2 separate regions of the Homo sapiens genome follow, and region 1 is linked to region 2. The links are contacts of gene promoters, found by promoter capture Hi-C in human tissues and cell types (Jung and others, 2019). All regions are on one chromosome and are shown on one strand. The core of a region is centred on a gene start or on the middle of the fragment in contact, and the rest is flanking DNA. Distances in the headings are between cores, read along the strand shown. Region 1 overlaps TTC21A (tetratricopeptide repeat domain 21A). Region 2 holds the start of CCR8 (C-C motif chemokine receptor 8).

Evidence for each region. The method cuts DNA at HindIII sites, captures the fragments that hold promoters and counts their contacts. A contact is called where the count stands out against the background at its distance.
Region 1: a fragment that was not itself captured here is called in contact with the fragment with the promoter of CCR8 in region 2 in 1 of the 25 tissues and cell types used here (H1 embryonic stem cells).

What each region holds. Positions count from the first base shown.
Region 1 is chr3:39,117,349-39,123,845 of GRCh38, forward strand. It overlaps TTC21A (tetratricopeptide repeat domain 21A), which reads left to right. Exons shown (of 29, transcript NM_001366900.1): 7 at 721-805; 8 at 2,574-2,672; 9 at 3,649-3,841. Among named protein-coding and RNA genes, the nearest start is that of TTC21A, 13 kb to the left of the region's middle. RefSeq lists a silencer at 5,603-5,662. The HindIII fragment of the contact is 6,136 bases long and covers 1,748-6,497 here.
Region 2 is chr3:39,323,668-39,331,178 of GRCh38, forward strand. CCR8 (C-C motif chemokine receptor 8) reads left to right here and starts at 6,042. Exons shown (of 2, transcript NM_005201.4): 1 at 6,042-6,162. RefSeq lists enhancers at 4,184-4,273, 4,624-4,713. The HindIII fragment of the contact is 13,900 bases long and covers 1-7,511 here.

The sequences.
Region 1 (6,497 bases), core at 3,566-6,065, 210 kb before region 2:
GCTATTAAGCAGAAAGTCATTCCCTGATAGGCTGAAAAATGGGAAAGAATCTTTCTATAAAGAAATAGAATATTGAAAACCTCATAGTATGGTCAGAAGCTATAGCTTCACAATAGTACAAAATTGAAACCCAGGTTCCTTTTCCATCTTACAGTGACTGCCCCCCAAGTGCCTTTCTGGCCACCTCCAGTCTCTGGCACCATGGTCATGTCTGGTTAGTTGGGTTATGAATAAGTTTCTGTGGCAAAGATACCCTCAGATACACAACTTAAATAACATAAAAGGTTATTCCTCCTCCAGGCAAAGTTGGTGGTGGCTCAGGGCTGGGATGACAGCTTAACTCTGGGGAGTCCCAGGCCCCTCTGTCTTGTTGCTCTGCTATTCCTAGGATAATGCTCACATGGTCCACATTCCATACAGTAGGCAGGAGGAAAGGGGGGAAAGGGAAGGCATGCTGGTAGGGCACAACTGGACAGCACACCCCTCATTTGTACTTCTATCCTGTAGGTCAGACCTTTGTCACATGGCCAAATGTAAGCTGCAAAGAGAGGCTGGGAAATGTCTTTATTCTGAGCAGCTTGTGCCTGGCTAATTTGGGAGTTCTATTATTAAAAGAAGAGGGGAGAATGGATATTCAAAGACAATCAGAAGTCGCCAACACACCATCCCAGCTTTGCCTATCAATACTCTCAATTCATGTGCCTCCTCTTCTTCCTTCAGAATCCTAGAAAAAGATGAGAGCAATATTGATGCCTGCCAAATTCTAACCGTGCATGAGCTTGCAAGAGAAGGAAACATGACCACAGTAAGTTCTTTGAAGACTCAGAAGGTGATCCTTGAAACAGAATCAAGGAGGAACCCTTCATGACCTGTGCACCTGACCCAAAGCCCTTGTAGGGAGCTCCTGGATCTCAGCTTCCTCTTTTCTACCCCACCCCTATACTCGCTGCCAAGGAGGCCTGCTCTGGTTTGACTCTTTGAGTTGTGTAGCTTGGGAGTCAGGCAGCATCAGGCAGTGAGATTGATTCTAGGCTCTGCCATGTGCTATCTGTGGAAGCCTGGGCAGGTGTCCCCACCTGGATAAGCCGCAGGCTTCCTGTTTGTAAAATAGACAGAATTCCACACAGGACTAAATGTGATAAGAAGTGGGAGAGTTTGGAACAGTCCCTGGCACACTACAGTAATTCCATCAATGTTAACTGATAGTAGAAGTCGTGGTAGTATTTCTGAATTCAGGAAATGCCTTTTTTTTAGGGGATAGTTGGAACTGCTCAGGCATTGGCCAGGTAATACTGGGCCCCAAACATGCTCGTAAGTCTTGTAGTTTTCCAAAGAAACCAAAAATAGCCCTCAAATGCAGTCAGAAACACCTAGAATTCTTAGTGAAACCTCAATACCCAGACAGGTTCTCATTTTCAGAAAGGTTTGTTTTTAGCCAAAGCATTGCCTTTTAGATCAGTGAAATATATTGCCTCTATGGAGAGCATGGCAAACCAGGAGTCTCTAAGGGGTCATGGTGGGAAGGGGAAGCTTCTGGTTTCTTCTGCACAGCTCTGAGATTGTGGATTTTGTGGGATGGGGTGAGGTAGAGGGGAGAGTCCGTATTTGGGAGAAAAAGGCCCCAGCCCTTTTCGTCTCTGGGTAGGAATAAGAGAATAGGACTATCCTCAGCTCCCTGTGACTCCAGATCCCTAAGCAGGCCTTCCTGGGGCCTGGCCTGAAAGTTAATCCCAGGGGCAGACTTAGCATTTAGCTAACTGAGATTTAGCATTAGCCCCTTTTTTACTCCCACTTCAAACCTTGGGACCTCCCCACCGACCCCGGGCTGGCTACCCAGTTCTAATTTTGTTCATACTTACTGAACAGAGTGGACCCATACCATCCTTGGTTTTGCTTTTGGCACTTCTCTGCAGCTGGGAACTAAGAATTCCTTACTCCTGGGTGGGGAGTGGGAAAGAACCTAAGCTTTGGAATCTGTCAGTGACCTAGGTGGCTGGGTGACCTCAGACCAATTGCCTAACCTTTCTAACCTTTCATGTGTTGGACAGGAAGGTTTGGAAAGTTCGAATAGTTATACTGACTTACATTTGATTCATGTCAAAATGGAGCAGAGGCTTCTGGGCCAGCACTAGTTAGTTTGCTGCTGGCCTGGCAGGCTGCACTGTGGACACAGTGAGGGCTAGCTCCTGGCTCTGCCTGGGTGGGTCTGAAAAGGCAACTTCTCTTCACAAACTCAGGAACAGGGCTACTCTATGGGTTAGCCCTGCTCCATAAGGAGCAGTCAAAAAAAAAAAAGAAAAAAAAGAAAAAAAAAAAACAAATTCAAGAACAGAGGGGCAGTGCCAGCTCTGGGTGAATAATGTCCCCAGGAGTTCCACTTATAGGCCTTTGAAGTAATTCTGATGCCTGGACCACTCCAATTCACTTAAATCTGAATTTCTGGGGGGTTGTGCCTGGGCATGGGCATTTTTTAAATCTCCCAGCTGATGCTACTATGCAGTCAGGGTTGAGAACCACGGCGCAACTCTGACCTTGCACCTTGCATGTTGACATTCTCTGTTTTGTCCCTGCAGGCTACCAATCACGTTAGAAATCTGATTAAGGCACTAGAGACAAGGGAACCCGAAAATCCAAGCCTCCATCTTAAAAAAATTATTGTGGTTAGCCGACTGGTAAGAAGGTTCTTTCCTGGTTCTGAAATGGTGCTTCTCCCTGCTTTCCTTAGAGGAGAACTGTGCTCCCCCAGGAAGCTCCTTGAGTGCCTTACCCCTCCCTTCTGGCTCAAACTTGTCCTTTAGGGTAGTGGCTCATATCCTGCTGTGCCTACTTGCCTCTGGCTGATAACTGTGACATGTGGGTTCTACATCCTTAGCCTAGGTGCCCCCTCAGAGATGCCATGAAGATCAGGGAGACGGGGTCTGAAAGTGCTTTTGGAGTGGGCTGTGCCTTATTTGGGGAAAGCGGGTGGTATTGCAGCTGTTATGCAGCAGAGCCACACCCAGCTCTAGCCTCTAGTGCCTGGGTGCCCATCTCCCATATTCTTTTTTGTGGAGGTGACCTGAGAAGGCTGGCCTGCCTAGGCCTCTCAAACATCAGGGAAGGTTCAACTAGACCAGGTTGCCAACAAATCTGTATCTCTTTCAGACCCTTCAGCCCCAAAGCAAGATTTACTAGAAGTAGTTGCTGTAAGAATGAAGGCAACTCTGGGACCCCAGGAACCAGAACTGTGGAGTTGCATAGGCACCATCTCTCCCTCTGTATGTCTGATTCTCTCTGCCTTGTTCTCCACACATGGCAGGGAACATGGCTGATGGCAGCCTTTGGGGCCACTTCTTATTACTGGACACATTCAGCTTCAATTTTTGAAAAACCTCTTGGTGACTCCTTAGACCAATTACTGTGACCAGACAGGGGATAGGTCCCTCAGAGGACCCTGTGGCTAGAGGCAGGTTCCACAGTTGTGGCCAGTGAGAGGTTCCTTGGGAGCCAGACAGCAACACAGACCCAGCTGCCTAGACACACGGTACCTCTTGGCTCTCCTGGGCCTACCAGCCCTGCCTACCAAAGTGTCCCCCGTTTCTGACATGACCTTGCTCATACAGGCTGGACTGACTGGTTTCCCAATTCCCACCTTCCTGTTTCTTGCAGTGTGGGAGTCACCAGGTGATTCTAGGGCTAGTGTGTAGTTTCATCGAGCGCACCTTCATGGCCACCCCCTCGTATGTCCATGTGGCCACAGAACTGGGCTATCTCTTCATCCTGAAGAACCAAGTGAAAGAGGCCTTGCTGTGGTATTCAGAAGCCATGAAACTGGACAAGGATGGCATGGCTGGTTTGACAGGTATATGCAGGTGTGGCAGGGCTCAGGGATGGGTGTCGGGAGCCAAACCGGGCAGCTTCCATGGGTCCAGAAGAGAGGTGCTGGAAAGCATTCTCCTTGAAGGGTATGTGAATTTTGGGGTACAATGTATGATGGGGTATCTTTCTGGGAATCCACAAGTATAGATGTAAGAGGCACAGCAATGCTCAGAGGTATGATCAGAGTCACTCTGATCTCCACCAGACCTCCAATGTCTGTCTACACTGACTGCCCCAGAAGACTGACAGGCTGAACCTTATACTCAGTGGGCCCTGCCTCTTCTCAGGCTGCCCAGGCCGGGGTTGGAGGCAGTTCTACTCACCACCAGTCCCCACATGCAGAGCCTCTAGATTCACCTCTGTAGACCCTCCTTCAGGGCTCTGAGCTGAAAAACCACCAAAAAGAGTAGCTCTGAGAATTATATATTTCCCTGTCTGTCCAGGTGACTTTAAAAATCTTTTCTATAAATGCCAAATGAACTTTCTACAGTGCCATTTCCATTTTACGCATTTTTTAAAGCCCCCTATTCCATGGTCTGTGGTGAACTCTGAAGTGGCAGTATTTGGTTTGGGTTGAGGAAGTTGTGTGGTCCAGTGCTCAAGGCAGGCCGACTCTTGCCCTGGCTCTGAGGGGCTATGTGTTTGGGGCCAAGTCACTTCTCCTTTCTAAACTCCAGGCTCCTCATCTGCATAGCACATTTATCAGAGTAGTTTATCTTGACTTCTGGTTCAACATGTCAGGCTGACCCCCTCAAATCCATGCTTTCCCTCTGTCCCCAAATCCCATGAAAATAATGAAAGATATCTTTAAAAGGTAATGAGCCAGGCGTGATGGCTCACGCCTGTAATCCCAATACTTTGGGAGGCTGAGGTGGGCAGGTCATTTGAGGTCAGGAATTCGAGACCAGCCTGGCCAACATGATGAAACCCCATCTCTACTAAAAACACACAAAAATTAGCCAGGTGTGGTGGAGGACACCTGTAATCCCAGCTATTTGGGACGCTGAGGCCGGAGAATCACTTGAACCCGGGAGATGGAGGTTGATATGAGCCGAGATGACACCACTGCACTGCAGCCTGGGCCACAGAGTGAGACTCCACCTCAAAAAAAGAAAGAAAAAAAAAAAAAAGAGTACATAGCAGCGTGGACCAGAAACTTTGAAGAATTTCACATTTCTAGAAGATGGAAGGCAAATGGTGTCAAATACATGGGAATTCGAAGCAGATCTAGAAACCCATAAGCAAACATAGGCAGAGATGGGTTAGCTAAAGAATTTAGTAGACCAGCTTTCCCCAAAGAGTTCCAGGAAAAACAAAAACTAAAAAAGACGAGCTCAGGGTCACCAGAGGCTGAGTGTGAAAGCATGCCACGGGGCAGTGAGAGCGATAATAGGAGGATTACTGGAATCATGCCTTGGCCAGAGGCTAGAATCCAGGAGGTGTGTATTGGGTGTTGGGGCAGGAGGGAGAGGAGCACTGCTCTGGATGATTTCCCACCATAACCAGGGACATGAAGGACAAAAGGACTTGGCTGCTCAGCACAAAAGCAAAATTCCCTAGAATGTTCTTCCACCAGGTTGAGTCCTTCCCTACTTCCTCCTTCAAGGGGCAGAGTCCCAGTGGTTAGCCAGAGGAAAGTCCACTGGTCAGGATGTCTGTCCCACTCTCCCAGTCCAAGCTGAGCCCACCTGTATGTCCTGGAGTCACCATATTTTCTGCCCAGTCTGACAAAATCAGTGACCTTAACAGTGTGTAAAATGTGCCTAGTTGCTGCCCTTCCTTTATAAATCTGCTAGCAGTCTGAAAGGTTGGCCGAGTGGAACATGCAAAGCAGTAGCCCTCTGAGGAGCAGAGTTAAGGCTAGTACAGAAAAGACTTTTCCTCCCAAAACACCTTCAGTGTTTGGAGAGGCTATTATGTCAATAAGTAAAGAACATGCTACTGTGAAAAAGGTACAGGAACAAAAAAGAGTTGCCAAAAATAAAAAATATTATTGTAAGGTAAAAAATTTCATAAATGGGCCTAATAGTGGGATGGATATAACTGAAAACTAAGATGGTGATGAGGAAGACAGTCAAGAATAAATATACCAAAGTAGCAAAGAAATACCTGTGCAAGTAGAATAGCTTGCTTCAAACAGATGAGATTTGTCCTCCCAACATCAAAACATATCACAAAACTACAGTAATTAAGTCCCTTTGAGGCCAGCACTGACTGGGATAAGCAAATAGATAAATGGGATGTAACAGGCCTTATTTCAAACTAATAGGTTGTTCACCAACTCCTAGTTGGATACCCTGCTATCCATTATGAAAAAGAAAAAAAGGTAAGTTCTCATCTTACACCATACTTAAATTTCAGATGAATTAAGTATTAAACATAAAAATTAAATGAAACATGGGTTTCCCTGGGGATTCTAAGCCTAACTCCAAACTTGGAAGCTGCAAAGTTTGGCTTTGTGGCTCTACATGGAAAAAAAAAATAGAAGCTGCAAAGGAGAATATTTTACCTATTTGACTACATAAAAGCTTAAAATTACTACATGACAAGGTACTGTAAAAATAGTTAAAGGATAAATGGCAAACTAATAGAAAACACTTGCAACAAAGGGTTAATAAAACATAAAGAGAAAAAAAATC
Region 2 (7,511 bases), core at 4,792-7,291:
TTGGAAGCTGCTGGACACTCACGCAGATCTGTTAGCTATTACAGAGCATTCTTGTTTTGCTCTCTTCTTCTCCAGAGAGCCTGCCATTGAGACTGCTGTGTCTTCCTGGCACAGTTGACACTTTTCATAGGCTCAGCTGCCAAATTTTCTGGGTGTGGCCATTGTCTTCAGGTATCAAGCAGTGGAGATATAGGGGATCCCACTTTCACTTTATTGGACAAGCCTTCAAATATACCATCTCCACAGTAACAATTCATTGTATTTTTAGGAGCAACACATTTTCCTAATCATGTTTACACATATTATCTCATTAAATCACAATGTCCTCATGAAGTCATGAAGGCTTCTTTTTTTTTTTTTTTTTTTTTTTTTGAGACAGGGTCTCACTCTGTTGCCCAGGCTGGAGTGCAGTAGTGTGATCATGGCTCACTGCAGCCTTGATCTCCCTGGGCTTAGGTGACTCTTCCACCTCAGCCTCCTGAGCACCTGGGACTACAGGTAAGTGCCACCATGCCCAGCTAATTTTTTGTATTTTTTGTTGAGACAGAGTTTCACCATATTGGCCAGGTTGGTCTCAAACTCCTGGGCTTAAGCAATCCTCCCACCTTGGCCTCCCAAAGTGCTGGAATTACAGGTGTGAGCCACTGCGCCCAACCCTCATGAAAGCTTTATTCCCATTTTACACACGAAGATCCTAATGCCTTGTCAAAATGTGACCAGCCACACTAACATCACCTGGGAGCTTGTTAGACGTGCAGAATCTCAAGGCTCAGAACTGCTAAGTCATAATCTGCTGCTTAACAGGAGTCCCAGGTGATTTGGGTACACATTAAAGTAGCACTGGACTAAAACTCAGAAAGGTTTAGTGGCTTTCCCAGGTTTCCAGAGCAATGTGGTAGCCCAGTTGGGACAAGGCTCTGGAGACTCCAAGAAATGCTTTTCTTAATGCTTCACTCCCGGCTGGAAGGCACACCCATTCTTTAAGGCCAGCTCCCTGATCTCCTCCACATTCTTACCCTGAAGACCCAGGAAGAATCAAGAGTCCCTTTTGCTCCTGAAGCCCTTCATGTATTCCTCTGTCACAGTAATGAATGCATTTGGCCTTGTAACAAGATGGAGAAGAAAAGAGGGAATAAAACAGTATTTCACAAACCCCTCTTCTATGCAGAGGAACAGGGTAAATATTATCAGGAGTGAAGAAGAGAAGTATCTTGACATTCTACGTTTACCCTTAACTTGTGAGCATTTTTCCTGGGCAGAGGCGAACTCTTCCTAGTTTCCCCTTAAGAGTTTTTCATGTGGCCCAGGTACTGAACATAAGATAGACTTGGAGAGGCCATTGGTTCTGGAGGACTCACACTACTTTGGCCTCATATTTTTTTTTTCTCCCCAACTTCATAATGATAAACTCAGGCTTCCTTTGTGTACCACTTTTGGCAATGCAGGTGCTTTTTGCAAGTCAATGGGAGAGAATTACAAGTGTGGCTTATTAAATTGATCTCCAATTTAATCAATAAATCATTCACAACATGAAAATGTGTTTGCTTTGAATTAGTGCTTGATAGCAATTTTCTATTTCCTAAAAACTTGTAATTGAAATGACAGCGTGCCTTTATTAAAGAGAATTTTAAGAATAAAAAGAAATAACCTAATATAAGATTGTTTTAATTTCTGCCTATTTCATTCTGGATGTACCCACACTCATCCATGCTTCGCAAAGAGACAGTCATAGTATACATGCCACCTTAATCATAAAGATTTCTCTGGGTTTCTACATGGTTTTCACAGTGATACTTTTTCCTTTCATTATTCATCATTCTTCAGAGAACCATCACCTCCTGGGACTCCTGTGATGAAAGTGCCATGATTGCTAAGCTCCTTAAGTGAGGAAATCATAAATTTCATTTTTTTATCCCTTCTAATGGCAAAAGCAGTTCTGAGAATATGCTAGGCACTTCAGTGCTTGTAGCCTTGGAAAAAGGTGGTGAGCATGTTTGTAGAAGATAAATTCTGGGAATAAAGCACCACCAAAAGGCTAAGAGATTTAGCCGGGCATGGTGGCATGCACCTGTAGTCCCAGCCAATCTGGAGGCTGAGGCAGGAGAGTCTCTTGAACCTGGGAGGTGGAGGCTGCAGTGAGTTGAGATCATGCTGCTACAGTCCAGCCTGGGCCACAGAGGAAGACTCTGTCTCAAAAAAAAAAAAAAAAAGAAAGGCCGGGCACAGTGGTTCATGCCTGTAATCCCAGCACTTTGGGAGGCTGAGGCGGGTGGATCACCTGAGGTCATGAGTTAGAGACCAGCCTGGCCAACATGGTAAAACCCCGTTTCTACTAAAAATACCAAAAATTAGCCAGGTGTAGTGGCGGGCGCCTATAATCCCAGCTACTAGGGAGGCTGAGACAGGAGAATCACTTGAACCCAGGAGGCAGAGGTTGCAGTGAGCTAAGATTGCACCATTGTACTCCAGCCTGGGCAACAAGAGCAAAACTCCGTCTCAAACAAAACAAAACAAACCACTAAGAGATCTAATCAATTATTCTGGCACACAAGGTAATATGAATTTCCTGAAAATGCAACTAAAAATACGTTATTAACCACATTTCTCCATATTCAACCCTTCAAATCAAAATTATGATGATACCTTTTTTTGTATTCTGACAATTGTCATGATTACTCTTATGAAGGAAATAAATAGTAGTAAAAAAGAAAATCTGTTTCTTGTTACTCTTTTTTGTAATCCATATGGGAAATTAAATTATATAGACAGCAAAACTGGCTTTACTATTAATAACACACGAGCTTTTCTTAAACTCTGGCTTTGTCTAACACTTTTCGTTAAGCAAATGCATTTTTACCCTACAAATCACTGAGGGACTGACATATAGTTGAAAACTATAGAAAATACAGAAAGACTTCCTCTAGTCTTATCCACAACTCTTCATAATGTTATTGCACGAGAATTTTGAATGTGGTGCAGTAAGAAAAGCACCCTCAGCTGTGCCTCGGAAGACCTGAGTTCTGGCTCTGGCTCTACCACCAAATTACTGTGTGATTTTGGGTGAGCCACTTTGCCTCTCTGGACTTAAATATTACTACTTTGAAAGAAAGAGAGGGAGAGAGACATCAGCTGTATGACCTGAGGCCATTTTCTGCCCTAATACTCTATGACAAATATCTGTGATAGTAGTAATTTCTACATTTACACTTAGGGTTTATTTAAATACAGTTTTTTCTTTCTCTTTATTTTGGAGGAAAGGAGGTCAAATATGCTGCTAGTCTCTTTTTCCCTCTGAAGTGAAATACAGTCTTTTGAACCTTTGGAGGGACCCAGTAGAATTGAATTTAGATGGGATGTCCCCAATGGATCTGATCCAGCATTTTCAGAACCCATTGAATGTGCAGCAGAAGGTAGACTTGGAGAGGCCATTGGCTCTGGAGGGGTCACACTACTTTGGTTTTGTAGTTTGGTTTCTGCTGCCTTCCCATAGAATGCCTGAATCCCTGATGTAGGCCCAAAGGTGAGGAACCAAGGCTTGTCAGTTAACTATGTCACAGTTTGTCTGTCTTCCGAGTCAGGATGTTGTGGGTTGAATAATGGTCAACCAAAGAGATGAAGTCTTAATTCCTAGAACTTGTAAATGTTACTTTACTTGGGAGAAGAGCTTCTGCAGATGTGATTAAGTCAAGGATTTTGAGATGGGGAGATTATCATGGATTACCTGGACGGATCCTAAATCCAATCATGAGTGTTCTCATAAATCAGAGGTGGGTGAGATCTGATGCAGACACACAGTGGAGAAGGAGATGTGAAGATGGTGGAGATTAAAGTGATGTGGCCACAAGCCCCAGGTTTGCTGGGGCAGCCACCAAGAGCCAGAAGTGGCAAGGAACAATTCGCCCTTCAAGCACCCAGAAGGAGGCAGCCCTGCTGGATTATAGCCATCTGGCCTCCAGAACTGGGGGAGAATACACGTCTGCTGCTCTAAGCCACTAAGTTGGTGGTAATTTGTTACAGCAGCCACAGGAAACAAATACACAGGTGACAGCAGGCAAGTGTCCAGTCCTGCAGGGGCCCACACCAGCCCTCAGATCTGGCTCAGGAAACACAAAAAGAGGAGCATCCTTCCATTCTGGCTGTTCAGTCCTTTCCTCCAACTCTTCACCAGACTCCACATCTCCACCTTGCCTCATTCTCTCTGTTCAACTATTTATTAAGAAGTTGCTGTGCACTAAGCACTGTGCCAAGTATGGAGGAGCAGCTGATAAAAGAATCCTCAGGAACTGAAGATAGAGACTGTTTGGGGTTTAGATCAGCTTGCACTAGAAACTGGGCTTGGGGGGAATTCCACCTTAGTCCCTCAGGCCTTGCTTAACTGGGCTTTGGAGGGGAAGGTGGCTTCCCCCACACCTGCCCTCACTGATGAGGCGGTCCCATAGTTCCCACCATCATGACATGGACTAGTAATACCTGAGGGCCCTGAGTTCTCCATCGGCTCACCATTGATCTTTGCTTATCACATACAAAACTCTCATAAAGGAACTGGGTTTTCCCCAAACTGCGTCAAAACATGAATGATGGTGAGGGGAATTTGCCGAGGTATGAATTCAGGTACCAGCAGATATTTCCTTTTATTTTTTCTTTAGAGACAGGTCAGTGGCTCAATCATAGCTCACCTCAAACTGCTGGACTCAAGTGATCCTCCCACTTTAGCTTCCCAAGTAGCTGGGACTACAAGTGCATGCCACCATGCCTGGCTAATTTTATTTAAAAAATTTGTACAGATGATGCATTAGTCCGTTGTCACACTGCTATAAAGAAAGACCAAGATTGGATAATTTATAAAGGAAAGAGGTTAAATTGACTCACAGTTCTGCATTGCTGGGGAGGCCTCAAGAAACTTATAATCATGGTGGAAGGCAAAGGAGAAGCAGGCACATTTTTCACAGGTCGGCAGGATGGAGTGAGTGCAAGCAGGGAAAATGCCAGGTGTTTATAAAACCATCAGATCAGATCTCTTGAGACTCACTCACTATCATGAGAACAGCATGGGGGAAACTGCCCCCATGATCCAATTAACTCCACCTGGTCCCGCCCTTGACACATGGGGATTATGAGGATTATAATTCAAGATGAGATTTGGGTAGGGACACAGAGCCAAACCGTATGAGATGGGGTCTTGCTATGTTGACCAGTCTGGTCTTGAACTCCTAGGCTCAAGCAATCCTCCTGCCTCAGCCTCCCAAAATGCTGGAATTACAGATGTGAGCCACCGTACCTGGCATCCAGCAGATATTTCTACTGCATTTCTCCAGGAATGAGTGGGTTGGAGATGAGGAGATTCTGGAACTTCTGTCATTTCCTCCCAACAATTCTGGGACTCATGTTCACTCTCCTGGGATAGGGGAAACTGACTTAAAGTGATTTTCAAATGGCATTCCTGTTGAAAGAGTTAATATATGTACATGCATACAACATACACACACATTTGTGTATGCTACATACCATGGAGGAAAGCCAGTCCTGGTATAAATTGTATAACTTCAAAATAATAATGGAATTATGATTTCATTTTAATACTGATTTCAATTAAAAATTTTAATAGACTATTTTTTAGAGGTTTTAAGTTTACAGAAAATCTAGGTAGACAACACAGAAAATTCCCATTAACCCCTGTATTAGTCTGCTAGGACTTCCATAACAAAATACTACAGGCTGAGTAGCTTAAACAACAGAAATTTGTTTTCCCACAGTTCTGGAGGCTAGAAGACCAAGGTGCCCACAAGTCTGGTTTCTGGTGATGCCTATTTACCTTACTTGCAGATGGCTGCCTTCTCCCTGTGTCCTCACATGGCCTTTCCTCTGAGCACCTGGAGGCAAGAGAGTGAGCTCTGGTGTGTATTCCTCTACCTAGGAGACACCAGTCCTATTGAATTAGGGCCTCAGCCTTACGATCTCATTTAACCCTCATTGCCTCCCTTTAGGTGACTAGGTGTGAGGGTGGAGCCCTCAAGAGACTGCCTTCTCTCCATCTGCTGTTTGTAGTGGGAGGATACCTCCAGAGAGGCTGCTGCTCATTGAGCTGCACTCACATGAGGATACAGACTTTGTGAAGAAGGAATTGGCAACACTGAAACCTCCAGAACAAAGGCTGTCACTAAGGTATGTGCTACAAGCATCCTTGGGGAAGAAGGGCATGAGTAGGCAGGGGCATTTTTATATCTTTAGAGGATAGGCAAAGGGAAGACCAAAATTTCAGAGGTCTAGCACAAGAAGTAAAATTTTTTTTTAAATCTTTGCATTTCCTCAGAGCCCACAAACATGCATGTGTCTTAGTGGCTGCCCATGCTCTGGCTGAGGAGAGCAAACCGTGCCATATTCTCTGCAGGCCTTTAGGAGAGAGTGAAAACTCCTACAAGAGTGGGAAGGTAGATAAGAGAAGATCCTTTATAATACCAGGCATCTGGGAAGATCTGTCCTTGTGCTGGGTACAGGGCTTCTATCAGGTAACTGAAGGACACCTGGGTGCTGTTCTTAAGGAAAGAAGCCAGCGAGCAAACTTTCATATGACTAAAGAAGTTGCTGGTGGGTGCCTGTAGTCCCAGCTACTCAAGAGCCTGGGGCAGAAGGATTGCTTGCGCCCAGAAGTCAGGGCTTTGTGTGAGATCACACCTGCGTATAACTACTGTACTCCAGCTTGGGCAACATAGTGAGACCCTGTCTCTAAAAAAATAAATAAATTGCTTGCTTGCTTGCTTGTGCTTTCAAATCATAGAAAAGTAGCAGAGTGGAGAGGGGTGTCTGAATGTAAAGCAAACAAATGCCTTGGAAAAATATGTCTGGATTGAAATTGCATTGAATGTATATATCAATTTGAGAAGAATTGTCAAGTTTTATAATTTTTATGTAACTGAATTGCATTTTTATTAGTTTTATTCCTAGTAATGCTAGTAATTTTCATTGCTAGTATAATTGGGATCATTTTTCTATTGCATTTATAAAGTTATTTTTTTTCTGGTGCTTAGGAAAGCAATTAAAAGAATAAACTGATGAATATCATGCAGATATATCTCTAAAACAATAAGCAAAATACAAAGGGAAAAACAATATATCATTTATGTAAGTTAAAACAATATATCATTTATGTAAGTTAAAACACACAAAAATATATATTGTTTATGGATATATATAAATATGTAAAAGTACAGGGGGAAATTGTTTGGAATGATACATACCAAATTGGTTTTAGTTGTTGTTTCTGTTATGGGGATAAGTTGTGTAGTTAAAGGGAACATTAGCTTCATCTCTATTGCATCAGAAATAAAAAAAGAAAGAGGGATGGAAGGAAGAGAGGGAATGAGGGAGGGAGAAAAGAAGGGAGAAAAAAAGAAGGAAGGAAGGAAAAAAAAATAACCCAAAGCATTGTGAGAATATGTTAGCAGCTGCTAATTCTAGGTGATGGAACTATGGGTATTTACATTTTCTTTGTAAGTTTTGGCTTTTCTCATCTC